Linked DNA regions of Homo sapiens: all the other regions are linked to region 5. The links are contacts of gene promoters, found by promoter capture Hi-C in human tissues and cell types (Jung and others, 2019). All regions are on one chromosome and are shown on one strand. Each heading gives the region's core, a stretch centred on a gene start or on the middle of the fragment in contact. The rest is flanking DNA. Distances are from core to core; before and after follow the strand shown. Region 1 overlaps GPC5 (glypican 5). Region 2 overlaps GPC6 (glypican 6). Region 3 overlaps GPC5 (glypican 5). Region 4 overlaps GPC6 (glypican 6). Region 5 holds the start of GPC6 (glypican 6). Region 6 overlaps GPC5 (glypican 5). Region 7 overlaps GPC5 (glypican 5).

Region 1 (3,426 bases), core at 302-2,801, 390 kb after region 5:
TTTTTGTAGTTTGTAATTTGGGGTCTCTCAGGCCAACATTGCATGTGGGAGAACAGACATTAGACGTTAGGAAGAGATATTCTCATATTCATCACTGCCACACTCTTTGTCAACCTGTGAAGCAATCTATTAGGAATTGTATTGATTTTTTGAAGCATTTATTGAACTCTCATCCTTTGACTCTGTGGGAAAGTACTTGATTATAGTCTAACTTTATAATTTCTATCTAGATACATGTTACTGATGCTTGTGAGTAACTTTCCCCTTAATATGAGTTTGGAAGTCAGAGTTAGTAGAAGCAATTTTTGGATGAATTGTGTAACAATACCCATTGGGATAAAACAGTGGTACACTTCAGTTCCGCTTTTAAAATCTTATAAATTACCATTTTTTAACAGGTTGGAGTAAAATATGCAAAGTTTTTTCTTACCATTGAAAGAGAAAATAAAAATAATTATCTTGTGAATAAATGACAAGGCTTTATTTCATGAATTAGGTATTGTGTTAATAGACAAAGTGTTTTTCATTTATTAGCTGCCAGGAAGTGAAATCTTCCTATTCCTCCTCTCCAATCAATCACGGAGTCTCGCTAAATTTGTTTTCTGTCTCTTGAATCTATCCACACCTGTCCAGTCCTACTGCCATTACCCTAATCCAGACCATTATTGGTGCTTTCCTGACTTCTGAGCTAGGGCAACAAAAATTCAAATCAGATTATATTGTCCTACTACTTAACATCCTTCAGTGAGTTCTATTTATCTTTGGATGAAATCCAAACTTCTTCTTATGTTTTACAAAGCCTTCTATAATCTTGTTCCTGCCTCTCTCTCTAACGTTAACTCTTACGGATATACTAAATTTCCTTTAATTATGTTAAAGCTTTATAGTCACATGCTATTCCCTGTGCTTGGAACAATCATCACCTTCCCTCTCTCATCTTTTACCCTTGCCAACCTGTGAGGCTGTCTGTGATCTCCTTGTCTAGCTTAGCATTTTCTGCAATAATGTCCCATAATACCATGTATTTCCATAATAAGTATTACAATAAAATACAAATAACATTGCATTATAAAAATGTGAATAGTATCTGTATCAGCTCTGACACAATCAGTTTAAGATAGAACAAGGACAGCTGTATCTTTTTATTGCCATATTTCACAGTGCAGAGGATAAAGAAAAACATCAATTTTTCAAAGAATGAATGCATTAATGAACAAGTGAGTGAAGAATATATATATTATCTATTTATGCAGATTTTCTAAAATCTATTCCACAGTTAAACAGATTGTCAGAGAACTAGGTATTTGGATGACAACACTTTGACTCTATCTATATCAATTTGTTTATCTGAAATCTGCTTGGGTGTTACGCTATCATCTTGCATATTGTTTAACTTCTTAGGAGGTTGTGTTCACCCTATTACATTAGTCACAAGGGACAGCTGGTTTCCTTTTACTTATATAGATGCTGTGAATCATATAAGTAAGTAATCTAGCCTCCCTCTTTCTGTTGGCTTCTGAAAAGCTCAAATTGAAATATCTATCTGACCTCTCTCAAAGATGCTAGGTTTCAAAGGAATACATTTTATATATTAACTCAAACCCAGCTTTTATTTTAATTTCCAGTAGTCTCTACTTCATTGTTAGATGTATCTCACTGTGCTAAATTGTGGGTATTTTTTTGTTTTGTTTTGTTTGTTTTGAGACGCAGTCTCACTCTGTCACCCAGGCTGAAGTGCTTTGGCAGTCTCGGCTCACTGCAACCTCCGCCTCCTGGGTTCAAGTGATTCTTCTGCCTCAGCCTTCCAAGTAGCTGGGATTATAGGCACCTGCTACCATGCCCAGCTAATTTTTGTATTTTTATTAGAGACAGGGTTTTACCATGTTGGCCAGGCTGGTCTCGAACTCCTGACCTCAAGTGATCTGCCCACCTTGGTCTCCCAAAGTGCGGGGACTACAGGTGTGAGCCACCATGCCAGGCCAAAATTGTGGGTATTTTTGGAAGCCACTTTGCATCCTCCAAGCCATGGGAAATTTGGGTTGGAGTAAATGAGGAGGTAAGGGAGTCAAGGGGTACCAAGAGGAATGAGCAGGTTCTAAAATGTGTAGACTTCTTAACTGCACTAAGCAGCATTTTCACCAAGGTGATAATGAGTACATTAAGATACAGTAACTCCTTTCTTAAAAACCTTGTAATAGCAGTAGTCTATTTTAAAAAGATTAGTAAGAAGTTTTAAAAAATATTAGAAATACAAAGAAAAATATTTTTATTTCAGTAATCTCCAGGAAATCCATTACATATCTGGTTGGAAAGTTACTCCACTGAGTTTGTAGAATTTGTGTTCTAGTTTTTAGTTCTTCCATCTTTATGGATGCCCAAATTAATGCCAAACTCAAGAAGAATTCCTTAAGAAATTCAGGCAGACAAATGCCATGTTGATCTTTGAAAACTCACAGTTTCTTTGAGCTTTATGTTTAAGTAAGTTAACGTTTTAAACGTGTATGTCAATATAGTTAAATACTAATGATCTCCTCCTATATCCTTTTGAGATTCTATTTTTTTATCTAGACCATCATTAAAATTATTTTAGCATTGTCTAAATATGCTACTAACTTACTTTGTGACATTCTTTAAGTCATTCATTTCCTGGCCTCAGTTTTTTCATTGAAAAAAATAGAATGAATAAATTCTAGGAGTGCTTTAGTAAAGAACATATATGATTGGTAAGCCCATATACCTGTACATTAATGGATTTAGGGATGAGTGCATGTTTCAAACAAGGCCAATCAGAGTACTTTTCTGCTCAGGTCTCAAAAACACAATCATCATTACTTTGTGCACATAAATTGTAAGGGTAATTTACTGATGCTATTTATGACCACCTTACTTGGCCACATGGAAGAAACCACTGAAAATGGGAAGGCAATCAACAGGGAAAGAAAATCGTATCTTAGAAATACAGAGAGAGCTCAGATAACATTATTGGAGCTCCTGGATCCAGACACACCTGAAGTCAGACATCTTTGTGGGCTTTTCTATCACATGGAATCAATATGTTCTTTATTTGCTTGAGCTAATGCTTTTTGTTTCTTGCAACTCAAAGAGTCAAGACTATTAAAGTCTTTGTCTCTATGATTCTATGATGTCTTCATACAAAGACTGCTAATAGAGTAACTTAATAATTGAATAATCACTGAAAACTGTCCAATAATCCTGATAACTTCTTCAAATATTAAGATGTGTAAGAGGAGGATTCTTAGTTAATGGAGTTTACAATCTGAAAATGGGAGTAATGTTGTAATAAAGTATTATGGAACAAGAAATATGATTTAAATAATTTTCTTTTGGAATAAATAATCTCAATATGATACATGTGGTTCAAGTATAAAAAAATTTAAATTAGCATGAAAAGAGTCATGTTTTATT
Region 2 (3,407 bases), core at 73-2,572, 440 kb before region 5:
TCAATATATCTTGAACTTCATTTCAAATCAGTTCAATTATTTTGCATGGCTGCATGGCTGCATATCATTATGGATATACCATTACTTATTTACTATTTTTGCCATTGGTAATTGGGTGTTTTCAGGTTTTTGCTATCACAAATAACAATGCAGTAAACATTCTTATACTTAAAGGTTGCAGATTCATGGGCGTGTATGCCTAGGATAAATTCCTAAAGTAGAATTTCTGGGCCAAACAGTAGTGTGTGAAGACAAGTGTGGGTGCTCTACCCTGATAGCTGATTGGGCCTCTGAAAATAATGAAGCTACATTCACTTTGAAGAGAAGTATATGAGGTTTCTTCACATTTTTTCAACACTGAGAATAACAACTGTTTAAATTGTTGCTGATATGACAGTTGAAAATGTGAATTATTATTATGTTTACTTTAATGTCTGTCAATTTAAGAAGATGTTCTCTAACAGAAATTTTTAATTCAGAATACTTGGCATTCTCTAATCCAAGTAAAAAGAAAAATGTTTAGAAAGTGGCTTGTGTGCCAGGCGTGGTGGCGCATGCCTGTAATCCCAGCTACTCAGGAGGCTGAGGCAGGAGAATTGCTTGAACCCGGGAGGTGCAGGTTGCAGTGAGCCGAGATCACATGACTGCACTCCAGCCTGGGCGACAGAGTGAGACTCTGTCTCAAAACAAACAAACAAACAAAATTGGCTTGTGTGCAGAGTATGCTTCCTGAAGATGGCAATAATGATAGAAACATGTGTAATAGTAATGACACTGGAAACATCATGGGTGTTTCACTTATTTGTTTCTATCAAATGGTATGTTTTTCTAAAAAGCCATCCATCTACATTTGCCAAATCAGTTTCCCTTAACAAGGGAAATGCTCTGATTTCCAAAAATAATAGTCTACCTAGTGACAAATACCTGTATATGTGCTTTTCTTAAGTTAAAAAATAAAAACGAAAAAGTTCACTGAATCCCATGCATTTTTTTGTTTATCTGCAGCTAACGGGCTTTTTAAAAGCATGATCTTGAAAATTAAAAATGCAGTTTACATGGCTGAATAATCACAGCAGGTGATTACTATATATGGAGTTTGAGAATTGCTCCCTACCTTATTAAATTATTTCAAAGTACTTAGAATAAATTTAATTTAGAATAAATTATATAGTTATATCCTTATCATTTTTTATTGTTTACCAAGTAAATTTTATTTCCTAAAAGTGTTACAAACATTTTGAGCAATCTTCAGAACCATATAAAATAACACTGTCAGTATTATTCTAACATTATACAGAACAACGACTAATGCTGAGAGTGTTACTCAAGTCACAGATCTGGAAAAAGACCAAAATCCTGCTTTGAGGACTTCCATGCTCTTGCCTCCTCTAGCTCTAGAATTTTAGAATAATAAAATTTGGTTTTGGTAAGGAACTTATAGCCTAACTGGTTCAGCTACTTCTTTTGCAGGTAAAATCACTTCATTTTATGCATTTTTACCTATACATCTAGCACAGTCCTTGCTATTAGTGGATGATTCTATTTAATAGAAAGATGAAGTGACTTGTCCCATTTTAAACAAACTTCTTGTTGTGTAGACAAGAAAGCTGTGGAAGATTGTCTAGATTACGTTTCCTGACCCTGAAGTTACTATTTCTGTTTTCATCACTTCAAAAGAAGGTACAATACAATTTTACATTAACAAAAGCAACTGCTATTATTGCATTTAAATCTCAAACATAATATGATTAGATTAACTTTAAAATCCATTATTATTCAGAGACGGATCTGTCTTAGAGGCAGATATATCTACTCAGACAGAAAGGGGATATAATAAGACTGTAAACACAAAAATTAAGTACATAAGCTTAACAGACCTTTAATAATCTGTCTCAGCATCTGCTAGATTTTATTTAAAAAGGAATTTATTATGGGAGAAAAGTCACTTCATATATGAACATCAACTTGACACATAGTTGTAAATGCATCTTCTGCCCAAGGTGCCATGCTATGGGCTATATGTGATTCCAATTCAAAACAATTATATGATAAGGTCCAGTGAGTTGAACAGTTCCATGTGAAAATTACCTGTATTACTTTATAAAACTTATCAGGAAAAAAAATTATAATAAGTCATAGGAGGCTTTTTATGTCTAGCTTTCTGTTCTGTACTGTCAGTCTCTGAACTCCTTAAAAATTGAGATTTTTTTTTTTTTTTTTTTTGCAACCAGTCACTGGCACAGGGTATTTTCAAAGTAAACATTTGTTAATGCCTAGGTGAATGAATAGATCCCACCAAATGTCATTTTTCTATCACAGTGATTCGCAATCCTGGCTGTATATTAGAATCACCTGGTTAGCAATAAAAATAATGATATGCTCACCTGACTTCACCAGAATTCTGATTAACTCTATTGAGTAATCAGGGCACATGCCTAGGTGTTTTGTTTTTTGTTGTTGTTTTAAATTTCAATTTTTTTTCTATTTCATTGATTATCCTGGTGTCCCATTAGGAATTATTCCTAGAAGAATATCAAGTTCAAGATATTACAAGACATAAGCAAATAGGGAATTGCTGCTTGGAGACACATGCTTGGTGGAAAATATACCCAAACTAGCATTTCAATTTAAAGTTTAACTTGAAATGTAGAAGTTTTTTTTTTGTTTGTTTGTTCGTTTGGCTTTTTTTGAAAGACGTCTCGCTCTTGTACCCCAGGCTTGAGTGCAATGGCTCAATCTTGGCTCACTGCAACCTCCGCCTCCCGGGTTCAAACGATTCTCCTGCCTCTGCCTCCCAAGTAGCTGGGATTAAGGCACCTGCCACCACACCCAGCTACTTTTTGTATTTTTTAGTAGAGACAGGGTTTCACCATGTTGGCCAGGCTGGTCTCAAACTCCTGACCTCAGGTGATCTGCCCACCTCGGCCTCCCAAAATGCTGGGATTACAGGCGTGAGCCACCACCCCCAGCCTAAATGTAGAAGTATTTTGATAGCTCTTTCCTTTTTCCTCCCCGCTCCCTACCTTCCACCATAGGTACTGTTAGTTTTCAGTGATAACACATTAGCCCGAGTGACTTACTACAAGAAATAACATCAAATGCCTTATGTATTTATGAATAACAGAAAACTCAAGATGCAGGAAGGAAGAGAAACATATATGAAATTCACAAGCCTTGGAGAGCACAAGCCTGGGGCCAAAAAGCAGAAACAGAATTAGATGGATGACTTCTAACTCACATAGGGGATGATTTCATGCTAGTAGGGAGAATATACAAGGTTGTCTTTCTGAACAGTTTTGGGGACCGGCAGTATCCCACACAGTTTTTAGGGCAAAGCAAAGTTTAAGCTTAGTAACTAGTCATGGCTACTCTCATTGAAAAATAGCTGGCCCAGGCACAAAAGAACT
Region 3 (3,291 bases), core at 30-2,529, 410 kb after region 5:
TTGAATCACCTGAGGTCAGGAGTTCGAGACCAGCCTGGCCAATATGGTGAACCCCATCTTTACTGAAGACAAAAATTAGCCAGGTGCAGTGATGGGTGCCTGTAATCCCAGCTACTCAGGAGGCTGAGGCAGGACAATCACTTGAACCCAGAAGGCAGAGGCTGCAGTGAGCCGCGATCGCGCCACTGCACTCCAGCCTAGGTGACGGAGCGAGACTCCATCTCAAGAAAAAAAAAAAAAAAAAATGCAATTTAGGCAAGATGTCCATCCATTACCCATTACCCAGGTGGAAAGTTTTGTAGAAATGCTAGTTTCTAATCAAAATGTCCTGCTGCCACAAGGTTTATTTTTTCATTCAGAATATTCAAGAGACAAATTAAAAAGCCCAGAATATTTTTTCATTAAAACCTTGTTCTTCTGAGTGACTTATGATTAACTAATGTGGTTTGAAAGACTCAGTGGGCATATAAAGTATACTAAAACTGTTTGTTTCTTGGAGTCAATTTTAGCCCTGTTTCTCAGACCTTCAGTGAAACGGTATACTTTTATGACTTCAAGAGAGCCCCAAGAAGAAATAAATATGTTGGCTTAGAAAATAAAATTTCCAAAGAAGCATCAATGAATACTAGAAGAGTTCATGAAATTGGATACCTATGATAATAATTCTGATTAATTTTTCAAAGATTAAATATAGTCAAAATTCTGTACAGTAAACCAAATAGTTTGATTGATGCTGATATTTTATTCAGTTGAGTAGGCATCTTACAGACACAGCCTTAAAACTTAGAAGGCTATGTAATCAAAAAGCTGTACTAAGTCTTAATGTCATAGTAACATATAGTTTTGGTGAAGGACTTAAAAAATCAAAAAAGTATGTACCCAAACCGAAATATTTGAAAGGATATTGATGCTTTAGTATTCTAGGCAATTGGAATTGTAGATTTATACTACTTTTTCCTGCTGCAGAATTGTAGATTTATACTACTTTTTCCTGCTGCAGAACAACATATTCATATTTTCTGCTTCATTGTAACAGCATTTGAAAGTTTGTGTATGTGTGGGAAGTGGTAGGCGGAGGAGAATGGGTCTGAATAATTAAAAATAAGTATGATAATTTAGAACCAGTAATTTATTTTTATTTTCTATATTGGATCTTTTTAGGGATTGCATTGTTCTTCCAACCTTAAGCTTCTAACCTTAGTATTAGAATCCTTCAAGCAGGTACTAGGTGAACCAACCCATTTTTGGTTATAGGTTTCTAGACCGGGAGTGGGCAACTGATTTAGAGAACATCACTATAGAGGGTAGATTGATTGAATCCAGATATCTCACCCAGGAATTTGAAATTGGGACATATAGAGACAGGGTCAATTATCTGTGGAAACTGGACATGGAGTTTACATATTTCAGAGATTCAAGGCACATGTTGGCAGAGTCAGGGCAGACTATGTGTAATTAGAGAAGAGGAAACCAGGATGAGACTAAAAGCCTTCCATTCTTGGTTCTGTCCCTCAGAAAGCCTGGAAGCACTATGTACCCTGAGTTTTGCAAGATACTCTGGAACTCCCAATATATACTGTTTTCTTTTCAAGGTATTTTCAGAGAGTTTCTAGTTTTTGAAACCAAACCATCACTGACTAACGTATAGAACAGTACAATTAAGTGAAAGCAAGGTGAGAATGAAGAAGCCAGTGCTATTCAGGAACAGTTGCAAAAGAGTCTCAGATCATGACAGATCACACAGGCCATGCTCAATGTAGCTAAATCTTTCCGAAATGAGTAACTTTCCCACCAGGCAACTAACAAATCTCAAAACCCCTTAGTGCTAGTTTTCCTCTTTTCTTTCATTCCCCATGCTCAAACAGCCAACAATATTCATTATTGTAATTTATAGACAATGCAACTGAAACCCAAGGGGGGAAATCATATAGCTCAAGTCTATGGATCTGGTTACCAACAGACCCAGAGTTACATGGCTGAGTTCCATGACCTATCCAATAGCCCTTCTAATTGTCACTTTACTTTTATGGCTATGCCATAATGAAGTAAAACAGAATGAAAATTATGTATAACAGACACATTGAGAAAGTGTATTCCTCTTGAATGTGAGCAATTTGGATACATTTCAGAATCTAGTCTTTGGCCTTCTCTATCAACTTTCATTAATGACTTGAACTCATCTGGTCCTGTGGCTTTAAATACCCTTCATGGGCAAATGACTCCCAAATTATATTTATAGCTCTGATCTTTCCCCAGAACCCTAGGGTTTTATTTCCCACCGTTTATTCAACATCTCCAACTGGATGTTTAATAGTTATCTCAAATTGATAGGTGCAAAGCCAAATTCTTGATTTCCATCTCCAAAACTGTTTTTCCCCTATGTTCTCATTTCAGAAAATGGCAGCTCAACTCAATAGTGACTCGGTTCCAAGCCTTGAAGTGATTTTTTACCTTCTCATATTTCACATTCAATCTGCCGTGCATTGTATTGGCTCTGCCTTGCAAATATGCCCCAAACCATACCACTATTCCCACACCCCCACCCCTTGTACAGCCACAGGAGTCCTGGCCACCACCATTGATTGGCTTCTACTGTCTTTGTATAGTCTGTTCTCAACACTTCTGCCAGAACATTTTTCGATACATACAACTATAACTCCTGTAACTTTCCTGCTTATAGTATTCCACTGGTGTCAGATCATATATAGAAAAAAAAATCACAGAGTCAGCAAAGCCTGTGTAATCAGGCTATGACTATTAGTCTGCCCTGATTTCCTCACAATTTTCTCCTCTGATTACTTGCTTCATCCACGTTGACCCCTCGCTCTTCCTCTAATACAAAAAACTTTCTTGCCTCAGGATTTTGTATTTGGGGATTGTTCTGCCTGGCAGGCTCTCCTCTATGTCTTATTTTGTATTCTCTGCTCCAATGAAGTGGGAACTTCATTGGTTATCTCTGCTAAAATATCCTCTCTTCATGGAGTCTTTCTTTGATCTCTCTCCCTAAAATATAGCAGCCTCATTCTCATCACCTTTACCTCCTTGCGCTATTGCTTTCATAGCAGTTACTGCTACCTGGCATTGTATTATATGTTTTTCTTTCTTTATTGTCAATCTAACCTATCAGAGTTAAGCTCCAAAAGAGGGAAACATTATTAATTTTGTTCACTGATGCATCCCCAGAACCTAGAATCACATCTGGTATATCATAGGTGTTAAATAAATATATGTTGAATGTATTTAAGCTTCCTAACATATAAAATTGTTTATTATTCTTAAGAAAATAACATT
Region 4 (3,424 bases), core at 507-3,006, 470 kb before region 5:
CGTACTCCTTAAAGAATTTCTCCACTTTAGGATATTTGACAAGTAATACAATTAGGAATCAGATTATTTTAGAGATATGGTTGAAGGCCACACTCACTTCATTTGTCAAGATAAATGAAATGCAGTTGGAAGTTCCATGGGAAATAAAAGCAGCACATGATAATCATAAAATAAATATAAAGATGAAAGCATGTTATTGTTTTGAACAGTTGATGGATTATAAGAAAAGGGATAGTTGATCTTGATGCTTAGAACATTCTCTTTTGAATGGCACAGACTTAGTTCTGGAGTGTTATGTATGATCTAATCAACGTATGATCTAATCACACTCAAGGACTCTGCAATTTATGATATTTATATAGTCATAACATTATTTGTTAGTTCTAAAATTTTGGAACTAACGTATGGACAAAGTAATGGACGGTTAATTGACAGTACAGAACAGCATTTAAGTTTTGTAAACTATGCTAATTCGTTGTCTAACATATATTTGTGGCAGGTATTGCTCTAATAACTGTGGATTCAACAGCAAAAACCGACAGAATGGCTGGCCATGTGAAAGTTCACATTAGTGGGAGAAAAGTAATCAAATTAGTAAAACAGATATAGAATTAAGTTGGATAGTAGTAAATGTTATGGCAAAAAATAAAGCAGAGTAGTAACAAAGAGGAGTGAGGGTGCATGGCTATTTTATGAAGGGATGTAAAGCAAGTGCTCTGAGAGAGGAAACTTTCATCAGAATCCTAAATACCAGAGAAACAGCCATAAAAAGGCACTCTAGCAATGCATCCAATGACCAGTGCATCAGGTAATGGTCTCTCATGTTTGAGTCCCAGCAAGAAGCCTGAGTCCAGAGAAAAGGCAATGGGTGAAGGGAAGTGAGAGCTGATATCCAAAGGAAAGGCTGGGGCCAGGTATTATCAGTAGGGCCTTGCAGGTCATGCTAAGGAGCTTGATCTCCTGAACATGATGCGGGGATGATTTCATCAAGCAATCCTATACAAATTGGGGACTGGGAGAGGAAGAAGATGTATGGAGAAAGGGATTCCTTGGGCTATACAGCAGGAAGGCAAGAGACACTGTTCAGAAGTTGATGACTCAAGAAATACAGCTTTAAAATATCATTTAAAGTTACGGAGGTGGCCAGGTGCAGTGGCTCACACCTGTAATCCTAGCACTTTGGGAGGCCGAGGTGGGCAGATCACCTGAGGTCAGGAGTTAGAGACCAGCCTGGCCAACATGGTGAAAACCCCGCCTCTCCTAAAAATACAAAAAGTAGCTGGGCGTAGTGGTGGGTGCCTGTAATTCCAGCTTCTAGGGAGGCTGAGGCAGGAGAATCATTTGAACCCGGTGGGGCGGAGGTTGCAGCAAGCTGAGATCCTGCCACTGCACTCCAGTCTGGGCAAAAGAGCAAAAGAGGGAGACTCTGCCTAAAAAAAAAAAAAAAAAATTTATGGAGGTAACCAGTATAAAAGTTTTGTTGCTGTTGTTTGTTTTTTGTTTTTGTTTTTTAAAAAAAAAAGGAAAAAAAGGGGGAGGGAAGAAAGTATAAATGAGTTCATTGTTTATTCTTCATAGCTAATGATGAAGTTATATAAAACAAGAAAAGGTGTATTAAAATAGTCCAAATAGTAGTTAGACTAAGATTGAGAAAAGGATTGCTAAATTTCATTGCTTATCTTTATTTAGTATGTGGATTATTTCATCCTGTCCATGGCTTTCATGACATTTTAGTTTTAACTTTCGTTAAAAGCAATACCAAAACTCTAAATATTCAAAGTTTGTGAAGTTGAGAGGAGAAAATTTACATCAGTTGGAAATGATGCTTTCTGTCTTATCAAGCACATTTACCACAATTTGCCAGTTGAAAAGCCGTATTAGAAATCATAAGCATAGAAATATAACATTTTCTTGGATTATAATCTCATTACAGCATGTTCGCAGAGACTTATCTCAAACCTAAAAACACATATTTCCATGTATTTGGGAATACATTTCAAAAAGGAAAAATGTCAAAAGTCTTTCTACATGCTGTTAGCATTTTTATGTTTGCAAACACTGCATTAAATTGATTTTGAAGACATTTTCTGGAATTATTTTCTTCTTATAAAATCTGGATGATACTCATAATTAGATAAGAATTCATTATCATCTTTGTTTATTCCTGCCTACCTTCTAACTATAAGAACAAAAATGGGTGGAAAATAGGTTCAAAACCTGCAGAGCATAATAGAAGTGAAAATAAAGTACCAATTAATATCAGCAATGTCACAGTCACCTCCAAAATGCCTTTGAGCTCATCATTTTTGACATAGCTTGAAAAAGCTTGAGTTGATTACCAAAGGAAAATGAATGAAAGCATATTTTAAATATCCATTTTTCATCTTACACTATTTTGCATTTTTGGAGTGGAAATGTTTAAAGATATTTTTTAAAAAATCTAAGAAATATTGTGCCAATATGTATTTTGAGAGAAAATTTACTCAAAAGATACTTCTTAGTATCTAAAACAAAAGTGTATTTATAAAAGTTATTTTCAAATCACTGTTCCCTTATACATCAAAGGATTATATGATGCTTGAAAGTACACGTTGAAATAAATATTTAAATTATAATATTTAATATTTCTAATATTCATGTGTAGTTTTTCAAGTTCATTTCAATTCTCTATTTTGTTGGTTTAAAAATGAATAGAAGTGCTTTTTATTGAATGTTAAAAAATAACATGTTGGAATATTGTTATTTGCATTATACCTACTGCTGTCAATCTGAGAAACACAATTTTAAAAAGTAAGTAAATCAATTTCTCATTCTGCTAGCAAACATATTTTAGGGTGATTTCAGGAAGTATTTTTATAATAAAAAGTGGAGGCTCAGTAAACTTCTAAGTAAAGTTTATTCCATAAACTTTCATTGCTAAATATTTCATAAAATTTTATTTATTTATGGACTCATTTCTATGACTATTTTCTAATTGAACAAGCTTGATTATTCTTTTAGCACAGATTTAACTCACATATGCATCGTTTCTGAGCAGTTAGAAAATTTATTTAATGTTATGAGATTCCATTCTAAAGAGGAAGTTTATGATTAGAAGTACAAGGATGACTTTTTCATCATTTTCCAGAACAGAGGTGTGATTTTTTTTTTATTATTTCAAAACAGGCTAATTGAGAACAACTGAGATTTTGGTCAAGGCCCAGTGAGAATGACAACATAGGTGAATGTTGTTGAGGCTGATCCTGGGGAATATCAAGTGTTAGTTAAGTCAAAAAAAGAAAGGCAACTCAAGCTTCAGCAATGTCATCTTCAGTGTTTGCCTGAGAGTAGGACCTAAAGGTGCTGATACTGCCTTGTTTTCAATAAAGTTGTGCGGTGACAGTAACACAACTCAATTTATTCTTCCGAAGCCTGCATCTGGCAC
Region 5 (3,347 bases), core at 672-3,171:
CTTCAGCTGCCCGGTTTGAGCAGCCCGCGCCCTCGCAGCATCTCCTGGCCTCCCTCGGCCTCTCTCAGTTCTGTTCTTTAGCAGCCAAAGGATTATCTCTCCCCGACACGTTTCATTCACAGAGCCCCAGAGAAGCTCGGATTCGGTTGGAGCTAAGAGCCGGAAAACAAGCACCCAGACTGCCGCGCAAGTTGTCGGAGACCAAGTGCTACACACACTGGCGCCGAGAGAAAGGGTGGGCGCTCTCAAGCTCTTGGTGGAGCAATGCCAGTGGCCGGGCATGCGGGGGACACGGGGCCCCCGAACCCGGACCCGAATCCCCAGCTGAGCCACCCGCTAAAGTTGGCTGTTCGCTGGCAGACGAGGCCGGCTCCAGACCGGGTGGCAGGGTGTCCCCGGGCCCTGAGTGGCCAACAGCAACTGGGGAAGCACTGAGGAACCCTAACGGGAAAGCCCGCCCCACATCTGAAACAGGCAGCCCGTGAAGTCCCCAAACCAGCCTTGAAACGCCGGCGTCCAGAGGCCAGGTCCCCGGCGAGGGTCCCTCCCAGCCTTGCCCGCCCCCGGCCCGAGCGCCGGGCGCTCTGTCGCCCGAAGGACGGATAGGGGAGAGAGGGGCTGGGGGAGCCCTCCGCGTCTCTCCACCGCCCCTGCCGGCGCAAGGGCGGGAGTGGAGAAGGCGCCACTCAGACTGTGGCGCTGGGCAAACTGCGGTCGCAGTTCTTCCAAGTTTGCCCGAACCAGAACGCGGAGTGAGCGCCCGGCTCGGCTCTCCGTCTGCGCCTTGCAGCCGCCCCGGAGTGACCCGGGCTCCCTGGCCAGCCGGGCCTGAGCCATCAACTAAGGGGTAGAAGGGCGCGAGAGCAGCGGGAGGCGGGAGCCAGGGTGCTCCCGCGTGTGCACACAATGAGGCGGCGGAGACGCACACCTTCCCCCGCCGAAGAAGCCGCAGGAGCATCCGCCGCCCAACACGGAGACGCGGAGTCCCATAGCGGTGGCAGAAAGTGAGCACCAACTCAGCAACAGGGGGAAGGAAGGGGACGCCGGGCGGCCAGTGGGACGTGCGGCAGCCGAGGGCTGCAGCCTGCCCCTGCAGCGCGCCCGCGCTTACCTGCGATCTCCTGGTAGGGGATGTCCGCCAGGCTGAATCCCTTGGCACCGTACGCCTGGCGGACCTCTCCGCAGCTCCGAGCCTTCACATCCGCCCCGGCGGGGAGGGAGAGCAGCAGCCCCAAGAGGGGAAGAATCACAGCCCCGATCCAAGAAGGCATGGTGCAACATACAAATCCAGCTCGGTAAACCCCACGGCCGGTGCGCTCTTCACCTTGCCCCTCAAGCCGAAAGCCCGCCAGAGGCAGCGGCGCGCTCCTCGCCGCTGCCCAGCGTCACCCCCTTCTGCCAGCCGAGGGGACGAGCAGCGCAGCCCTCTGGACTGCGCTCAGCAAACTTTTATAAGCCAGATGGACGATGGCAAGCCAACAAGGGCTGGCTGGGAAGGCTGCTGCCTTGCTCCTCTAGCCCCCAGATGGAAACGGTGCAATCAAAACGAGGAAGAGAAGGAAAAGAAGTGTTTAAAAAACCACCATGGGGGTTCAGAGCTGCAATCCGAGTTCCGAGCCGCAGAATCCTGGAGCGCTGCGGGCTCGGCTCGCCGGAGTGTGCGGCAAAGGTGGGAGCGCGCGCCGGCTCCCCCGGGAGGGAGATGGACAAGCGAGAGCGAGTGTGTATGCGCGCGTGTGTCTGTTGGTGTGAGCTCGAGGTTCTTGGGGATGTGTGTGCGTGGAGGTATGTGTTGGGGATATACGAGATCTAGGGGAAACCTCAGCTTAACACAGGCTGTGGGAGCCTGTGAGAGTCCTCCTGAAATAGGAAGAGAGAAATCCTGGAGACAGTCACTGGAGGCAAGAGGGAAGGAGAAAGGAGGGGGGAGAAAGAAACGTGCTACACATTGCACAGCCGAAATTCACAGGCCGAGTCAAAGGCAAAACCTGGACTGGATCTCTTCCTAGTCGGTAGAAAGGGGAAAAAAAGAAAAAGAAACGTACCTATTTTCTTATTCACTTCACATCCTTTATACCGATCTGAAATGACATCAATAAACAATCTAGAAAGACAAGGTAATTTTAAGTCATTAACATGTTATTAAGCTGTATTTTTATGGAGGTAAAGGATAACGCAGTTCCAATTGTTGCTCTTAATATGTGTCCCTGACCTACTGAAACACAAAGCCAGAGTGGAAATAGTCATAGACGGGAGTTCATGGGTGGCAGAGCACAATCACGGCTCTAACTAGTTGCCTAATTTCTGTTTGACTTTGTTTTTTTCTAAAGGCACACATTACAGACTGGTAGTTCTTAATTTTTAAAGGTTTGGTTCTAGACTCAACAATTTCCCCTTTTTTTATTTCAAATATCTCATAGCCTTCGATCAGAAATCATTATGCTTAGGTTTCTAATGTGTGGAGGATCGGGAAAGCTAACAACCAGACCACAGAAGCAACAAGAAAAGGAGAGCACAAGGGTCAGAGGTGCATAAAGGGACATAATGGGGGAAGGGAGGTGATTCCTTCCCTCTCACTAGATGCCCTCACATAGTAGACTTAACATTTTCTTCCAAGTTAACATAATTCTCAAGTGGAGAATCAATCCAATTTCTTCTTCCTGTCTCCATTTACACTGATGTTCTGTGAACGGGATAAAAGTGAAAATTCAGGTTTGCCTAATTGACTTTGTTATGCTAATGGACGCACTAAAGTCAGCTGGCAGAAGTGTGTGTTGAAACCCAGAGCTCCTGAAACTACTAAGATAGTTTAATGAAAACCAAGACAAAATAATAATAATAATAGTGTTTATTCACTTACGTGGCTATGTGTCATAGGTCAGCACATTATTCACAAACTACTACAAGGTAATGCACAGTTTTGTGGAGCTCACCTATGAAGCTACACATGAAGATGTTTTCCTGATGATGATATGAATGACCAGAATGACTCATGAAGTTTAAATCTTTGAGTTTGTCATTATCATCACAACATATTAGGTACATTGTCTTCCTCTCTTTAATAAATTCCCCCTCTCCTAACCACCAAAAAGACTCTCAAGATTCAACCTCATTTAACCTTTCCAAACGCTTTAAAAATGAAGTCGACTTATTTACAGAGCCACTTTGTCTTCTTCAAACTCATAGGTCAAGACAAAACAAAACCAAAAAAAAAAAAAACAAAACAAAACAAAAAAAAAAACTCCATAGCTAAATCTTTCTGAAAACGCAACACACTTAACTTTTTTTCTCTTAAAATTTTAGCACAGTTTTTTGCTTTCACAATATTTATGCTAACTGGCAGATCT
Region 6 (3,161 bases), core at 508-3,007, 500 kb after region 5:
CTTTAAAATTGAGTAATTAAACTAGATAATCTCTAATTTTCTTCCCAATTATTAATGCAACATGCAAAAATTACAATGTATGAATTAAAATGGTTCGAAATTTAGATTCATACAGAAATGTCAAAGTTGGCATTCAAAAATAGAACAGTACAATTATGTTACCCAGTTATTTAAGTCTGTTCCAGGAAAACATTAAGATAGTGACTGCATTTTTAAATAATAACAATCAGTGCTGTATTTTATGTGTCAACATTTAAATTCCTACCCCCGTTTTCCTAGAAGTGGAAAGTATTTTAATACAAGAAATGTTGAGGCTTTCTCTGTTTTTCATGTTGGATGCGTTCTGAAATTTTAAGTTCACTAAATTTCTCTATGTTTTGCTTAAATCTATTCTTCTGAACTAAACTTGGAAATAATGTATTGGCTGAATCATGGGGAATCCACAAAAAAATTAACATTCAATTTCTTTGTCTATCCCTATACATTCAAGACTGCTTAACTAATAAGAAAACTATAGAAATATAAAAGAGATTAGCAACAAAGCAAGATATAAGCACATTAAGGTCATCCTAGGGCTGAAACATTTCATCAAAAAAGATATGCTCATCAATCTTTCCTAGAGGCATGTAGAAGAGAAACTGTCTTTGACTTCATAATGGTAAAGAAATCAGTTCGTTTATAAATGCCTATGGCAAATAATGCATTGAGAGACAAGCTATGTATGAGACAAGTAGTTGTAAAAGGTGAAATTTTTTTGTCATTCTATGGTACTTTCTTAGAAACATTGTAGTTCTACATTTTTAAAACACCATAGTCCAAAGAGTTAAGTTACACCAATTAAAAAATCAAGAGTCGGCAAACAAACAAAAACATGGAGAGATTTTTTTATAAAGCATGAACAAAAGCATACACATTTTTATGTGAGGTGTGAATACTGACTGAGACAAAAAGTAGGAGATAGTAAACTGACTGTTAGAGAAGGTAGAAATGCAGATTGAAAGACCAATATGATCGAGTAATGACAGAATAAAGGATGGTGAAGGTAGTCCAAAGGAGGCTGCAGTCTAAAGAAAGCCATCTCCAATGAAGTCTAGAAAATGAATGGAGAGTCAGCAGAATCCATTAAGGGTATGTTTCTTTTCAGAAGTGAGAGGGTAGGGAGCACAACTCTGCCCAGCAAATGAAGCTTGAAAAAGTGTCTACTGAATTGAGAATGCATAAAGAAGACAGCTGATAATGAAGAGATGAATTTCTTGGAGTTTCTGTCAAGATTGAATGGGGCCACTTGTAATATTATTATCGAGCTTGTGAGGCATAATAGGAAGTTAAAGGTGGACACCCATGCAGAAATCAGTTGGAAAGCAGGCTTGATTTCTGGGAGGTCTGTGATGAGGCAAAGGAAAAGCATTTTGAACAACTTCAACATCTGGACTGACAAAAAGAAATGGAGGAAGTAGAATCATGTTTACATTAAGTGAGCCCTCTTAGTACAGAAACCAACATCTGGCTTTGGTTACATTTATCTGAACATAGTGAAAATGTTTGAATTAACCCAAAAAGATTAGACTAAATTTCATAATAGTGTTTACACAGCAAAATAAATGACAAAACAGATACATGGAAAAAGTGTCTGTTTACGCACACATTTCAAAGACCATGGATATAGCACCCCGAGCTACATTATCTTAGCGTGGTTGACATAAAACAGGGCTCTGCATAAACTCCTAATGATGGCTATTACAAATTGTGTTAAGCTAAGGTGGTTTAAACACAGATATCCCATGCCTTTTGTTTACTGCTATGATAAAAAGAGTCTGAATGCATTTCTACTAAAATTAAGAGGCAACATTATTAGGAAGTATATTTAAATTTTATGTTCCTACTATCAATAGCATTTCAGGTGACACCTTTATTTTTTGGAATTATAGCTCTCACAATAAGTTTTCTTTTATCCCTCTTTTCTCCATAAACAAAAATATTTGGAGCTTTGATTTGTTAGTACATTCAGAACGAGTACTTATTATCTTCACAGAAGTAACCTCAATTTTCCTTGGCCATATTGACTGGGTTTCATAAATATTATGGACCACTTATATGTAGTTTATAGCTTAACTTTGTTTCAGAATCCAACTTTTGCTCTTATCATTGAAACACCTGACTTTAACCAGGGATCAAAGGCAAGTAACATATGATCAGGAACAAGATGTGATCACCTATCAAGAAAGTGAGTGCATTTAAGTGGAATAAACAGTTAAATTTTGGAAAAAAAGTTTTATTCCTTTATTAAGAAATAGTTCAGGCTGGGTATGGTGGCATGGGCCTGTAGTCTCAGCTACTTGGGAAGCTGAGGTGGCAGAATCACTTAACTCAGGATTTCAAGGTTTCAATGAACTATGTTTTCACCATTGCACTCTAGCCTGGGTGATAGAGTTAGATCCTGTCTCAAGACAAACAAACAAACAATAAACAAACACAAAAAAATAGTACAGAATTCTTGGTTCTAAAAGAAACAACTAGATTTAAGAGCAAATATAAACATTATTTTTCAATATGTTGATTCCAGGTATGGTAAACAAGATCTAATTATGTAGATCAAGGGTGTTTTGAGTTAATAGTTTCAGGAGATCATGATGGGAAGAGTGCCTAAACTAAACATGTGGGATACCAAGCCTGAAGTGGGAGAGAGAATTCAGTTAAAAGCATCACCTTTTCCAGGACCTTACAAATCATCTCTTTTCTGGAGCTCTGACTCTACTCTTTAGCTCTTTGGTGAAGCAGCTGAAGCTTGTGTCAAAAATAATGTGACTTTTGGCAGAGAATAAAAGACCTCACCTAGAGCAATATTCAGGATGGTGCATCAGTGCTGGAAGATGAAGCCTGATACAGTTCAGTCATTTCAGGAAACACTTGTGACCTAGCATGCAATGTGCTACGCTAAAAGTCAGAGGGCATCATTAATATACCAGTATTTGAAAAAGAAATTCAATAGCAAGTCATGTTCTACTTTCAGGTTATATTAGGAGTAAGTGATTAAAGGTCAATAACAATTTCATCCAATTTAGATCTAAATTTTTCTCAAATTCTATGTTTAATAACTCCAGTGAAGAGCTCTATTTTGATCATTCCCAACTAGTTCAAAGTAATGCCCAATTTTTTGTTAA
Region 7 (3,251 bases), core at 69-2,568, 430 kb after region 5:
AAGATGCCACCAGGCAATAGGAATTTTTCAGCTCCATTAAAATCTCATGGAACCAGTCGTATATGCAGTCTGTGGTCGACCAAAATGTCTGTATAAATATAGATATGTATATATATCTATAGGTATATGTAGGTAGACTGTATAAATATAAACAAGCACACATGTGTTCACATAGTCATGGGTTGCATAACAATATTATACACACACACACTACACACACACATACACACACATATTTTGTTATATAGAATGTACATAAAATACATTTTATACCTAATTTGTTACCCCCAAAAAGCTAGTTTTCTTTTTTTTTTCTTTTTTTAGTAACATCTAGAAACCAAGAATAATTAGGGAGAATTTCGTAAATTTTGAAATGGTCTTATATTCTTGTTTGTAATATCTGTTGACACAACAATATACAAGCAAGAAGGTCATCATTTAAGGGAATTTAAAAGGGTTAAAAGGATAGTAACGATATTATTTTAGGGTTGCAGAATTTAACTTTCCGTCAAGGTAACAAACAACACCCTAAGGTATTATTATTGGGAACTGAGAATATCAAAAGTTAATCCCTTATTCTCCTCTTAATGAACTCTGTATCAATGAAGAAACCATTCATTGCTTAAGACTCTTCCCTTTATTATAAATTGAAATGAGCCTTCTAGATAATCATAGGAACCTTCACAACTTAGCTTTGCAGCATTCTTTGCTGTATCTATTTCTTTTCTGAACCACCTGTTATCTTCATTCATAAAGCAGGAGCAAGATCCTGGAATGTTGGTAATTCCAATTTTCACAGGGTTCGTTAGTGGAAAGTAACACTCAGAATGATTTAAGAATGCTTTTACCACAACATGCAACACTTACTGTTTGGGCAGAGCTTTCATGTTTTATGAATTGCTGGGACATGCTTCATCTCACAAATAAACATCTTAAATGCAGTGTAGTTAGGGTTTGACTTGAGCAAAAATGACCAAAGGAAGGGTTTGTGTTTGGTTCTTGTAAAATGACCTTCATAGTCTCGAGAAGGGGAGAGGCCATGTAGCATGCACCGTAATGTTATGCCCATCTTGGGATCTCAGAAGGCAGTTTATTAATGTAAATTCTTTAATGAATACCAGTGATTGAAAACTATTATTTTACAGTCATGTATAGTTATTTTACATGGCCATAGCTTCTGCAAGAAGGCTGTGTGTGTCAGAAGTTTGGGAGCTTTGAACATGCAAACCAAATACTTGGATGAAAGTAAATTGTTTTGAGATATTTACCTTCTGTGGATGGAAAAATAAAAAGTGGTTATCTAGTCATGATATGAATATCTAGGGCTATTACTATCTCTCTGAAACTGGAATTGATAGTAAGGTGAGAACTAGCTAACATATCTTCACAGGAATATTCTTAAATTCTAGCAACATGATATAATGAAATGAAAAATTTGAATCAGAGCCGATTCATCTGTATTTTTGTGTTCTTCCCTCTTCCTTGACAGCACAAATTATTTGGATGCACATTTATCTATAGTGAAATGTTAAAGAGAAAGGAGAAAAGCGACTGATAGACATTCAAAAAGCAGTGTGTGTGAAGGGAGAGAAAAAGGTGGTTTCCTTGATAGGGTTGACGACATGGTAGTATTAACACAAACAGTCAAACCCAGGCATTGGTAAAGGACTAAAGAATCACAATTGTAAGATGGAAACCCACAGAAAAGACTCCTCTGAAACTTTTTACCCATTTACACCTATCATTCCCCATTTTTCAACTGATTTTACTTACACTTTATTTTCAATGTCTTGTGCTTTTAAAATAATTTTTCAGACATTGCTGCTTTCCTCTTGTTCCCATGTAAATTTTCAGATGCCACATGCACCATTTCTTACTATCTTTTTATAAAAATTGAGACCTATTTATCCAATCAGTGATTATGTGTTATTATGGTAATGAGTAAAGAACAATATCTAAATTATGCAGGCATTAAATAATTTAGAGTGAATAAATACATAAAGAAGTCTGCTAATTTAACATATAAATATTTTATATTAATATGTGTCTGTTTGAAGTTACACAGTAGCTTTATCTGAGATTTTTAAGTGGATGAAAGGAATGTTTTCTGGATAACAGGCATTTCAGAGTATGTGAAATTAACCATAAGGCCAGCCACCTTCCCACTTACGTATTTGTCAAAAATATCTAAATATCCTCATTTACCACAGGAGAGGGGTAGCAATCTCTAAGAGTGACTTTTGTTTCATTAAATGAAAAAAAAATCAGTCTGATCATAAGACTTGCTAATTATTCAAACAGATTGCTAAGAAAAGTGGAAATATTTTCTGAAGATTTTTCTAGTTTACCAGTTTGTGATCAATTTCATGCACTCTTTCTTGGAGACAAAGAAAAATATGAGGAATCTAAGATATTACGTATTGTAATACTGGTGTTACTTAGAACAATTGTTGCAAATCATAAAACTACATTTAGAGTTTTCGTACAGCAGTCAATATGTGTTCATAATTAAATTCACGTGACTTACAATTTTGAGTGTTTGGTATTTTTGTTTGCTTAATATGCTGTATGACCATAAGTTAGAAACTTTTTAATGCTATGAAAGGAAAAATTGCAACAGCCTGATTTGAAAGGGAGGCTTTAGTTTGTAAAGATTAAAAATAACAGCAAGAGAATCATACTTCATCTCTAGTACGAAACACACATTAAATTAGAAACAGATATGAAAATCCCACAAACAGCTGAGATAATATTCCTATCTGAATGCCTTGAAATTTTATATCCTGAGAAGTAAATTTGCTTGAATTACAGTGTAGGTTATCACACATGGCAAACTGAATAATTTTCCTTTCTCAAATATTCTAAAAATCCTCAATATGAAGAATATCTAATTTTCCAGCAAGGAAAAAGTATAAATGATTCAATAGCTGGTTCAAACTTGGAAACAGAAAAAAGCATTATATTTGTCTGTATCAATTTAGTATCGATTATGAACACAGCAGTAAGTGTAACTGCCCTTTACACCATTGTGAATTGCTGAGTGTATATCATCTTGTGCTGCATAACAAATATCCATAAACAAACATTTATAAACTATATGTCTTACTGAAATTTGATTGAGCTACAAAAAAATACCCAAAAAACAACCAGTATGCTTCGGCCTCATGATGCTCAGTTTCCCAAGGGGTAGAAGCTTCCTCCTTAGCATTGCTGTGTCTCGTCATTTTCAGCATGCTCAGTCTGGTATACAT

The links. The method cuts DNA at HindIII sites, captures the fragments that hold promoters and counts their contacts. A contact is called where the count stands out against the background at its distance.
Region 1: a fragment that was not itself captured here is called in contact with the fragment with the promoter of GPC6 in region 5 in 1 of the 25 tissues and cell types used here (heart right ventricle).
Region 2: a fragment that was not itself captured here is called in contact with the fragment with the promoter of GPC6 in region 5 in 4 of the 25 tissues and cell types used here (heart left ventricle, heart right ventricle, mesenchymal stem cells and 1 more).
Region 3: a contact is called between a fragment that was not itself captured here and the fragment with the promoter of GPC6 in region 5, in 1 of the 25 tissues and cell types used here (mesenchymal stem cells).
Region 4: a contact is called between a fragment that was not itself captured here and the fragment with the promoter of GPC6 in region 5, in 1 of the 25 tissues and cell types used here (lymphoblastoid cells).
Region 6: a fragment that was not itself captured here is called in contact with the fragment with the promoter of GPC6 in region 5 in 1 of the 25 tissues and cell types used here (mesenchymal stem cells).
Region 7: a fragment that was not itself captured here is called in contact with the fragment with the promoter of GPC6 in region 5 in 1 of the 25 tissues and cell types used here (dorsolateral prefrontal cortex).

What each region holds. Positions count from the first base shown.
Region 1 is chr13:92,831,281-92,834,706 of GRCh38, reverse strand. All of the region lies in intron 7 of GPC5 (glypican 5), which reads right to left. Among named protein-coding and RNA genes, the nearest start is that of GPC5-AS1, 110 kb to the right of the region's middle. The HindIII fragment of the contact is 4,606 bases long and covers 1-3,426 here.
Region 2 is chr13:93,661,912-93,665,318 of GRCh38, reverse strand. The region is part of intron 2 of GPC6 (glypican 6); the gene reads right to left. Among named protein-coding and RNA genes, the nearest start is that of GPC6-AS2, 190 kb to the left of the region's middle. The HindIII fragment of the contact is 6,919 bases long and covers 1-3,407 here.
Region 3 is chr13:92,814,964-92,818,254 of GRCh38, reverse strand. All of the region lies in intron 7 of GPC5 (glypican 5), which reads right to left. Among named protein-coding and RNA genes, the nearest start is that of GPC5-AS1, 95 kb to the right of the region's middle. The HindIII fragment of the contact is 5,870 bases long and covers 1-3,291 here.
Region 4 is chr13:93,694,641-93,698,064 of GRCh38, reverse strand. The region is part of intron 2 of GPC6 (glypican 6); the gene reads right to left. Among named protein-coding and RNA genes, the nearest start is that of GPC6-AS2, 160 kb to the left of the region's middle. The HindIII fragment of the contact is 3,857 bases long and covers 1-3,424 here.
Region 5 is chr13:93,225,381-93,228,727 of GRCh38, reverse strand. GPC6 (glypican 6) reads right to left here and starts at 1,921. Exons shown (of 9, transcript NM_005708.5): 1 at 1,112-1,921. The coding sequence starts at 1,271. RefSeq lists a silencer at 138-432 and an enhancer at 486-1,328. The HindIII fragment of the contact is 15,285 bases long and covers 1-3,347 here.
Region 6 is chr13:92,725,694-92,728,854 of GRCh38, reverse strand. All of the region lies in intron 7 of GPC5 (glypican 5), which reads right to left. Among named protein-coding and RNA genes, the nearest start is that of GPC5-AS1, 5.7 kb to the right of the region's middle. The HindIII fragment of the contact is 3,123 bases long and covers 196-3,161 here.
Region 7 is chr13:92,798,091-92,801,341 of GRCh38, reverse strand. The region is part of intron 7 of GPC5 (glypican 5); the gene reads right to left. Among named protein-coding and RNA genes, the nearest start is that of GPC5-AS1, 78 kb to the right of the region's middle. The HindIII fragment of the contact is 4,740 bases long and covers 1-3,251 here.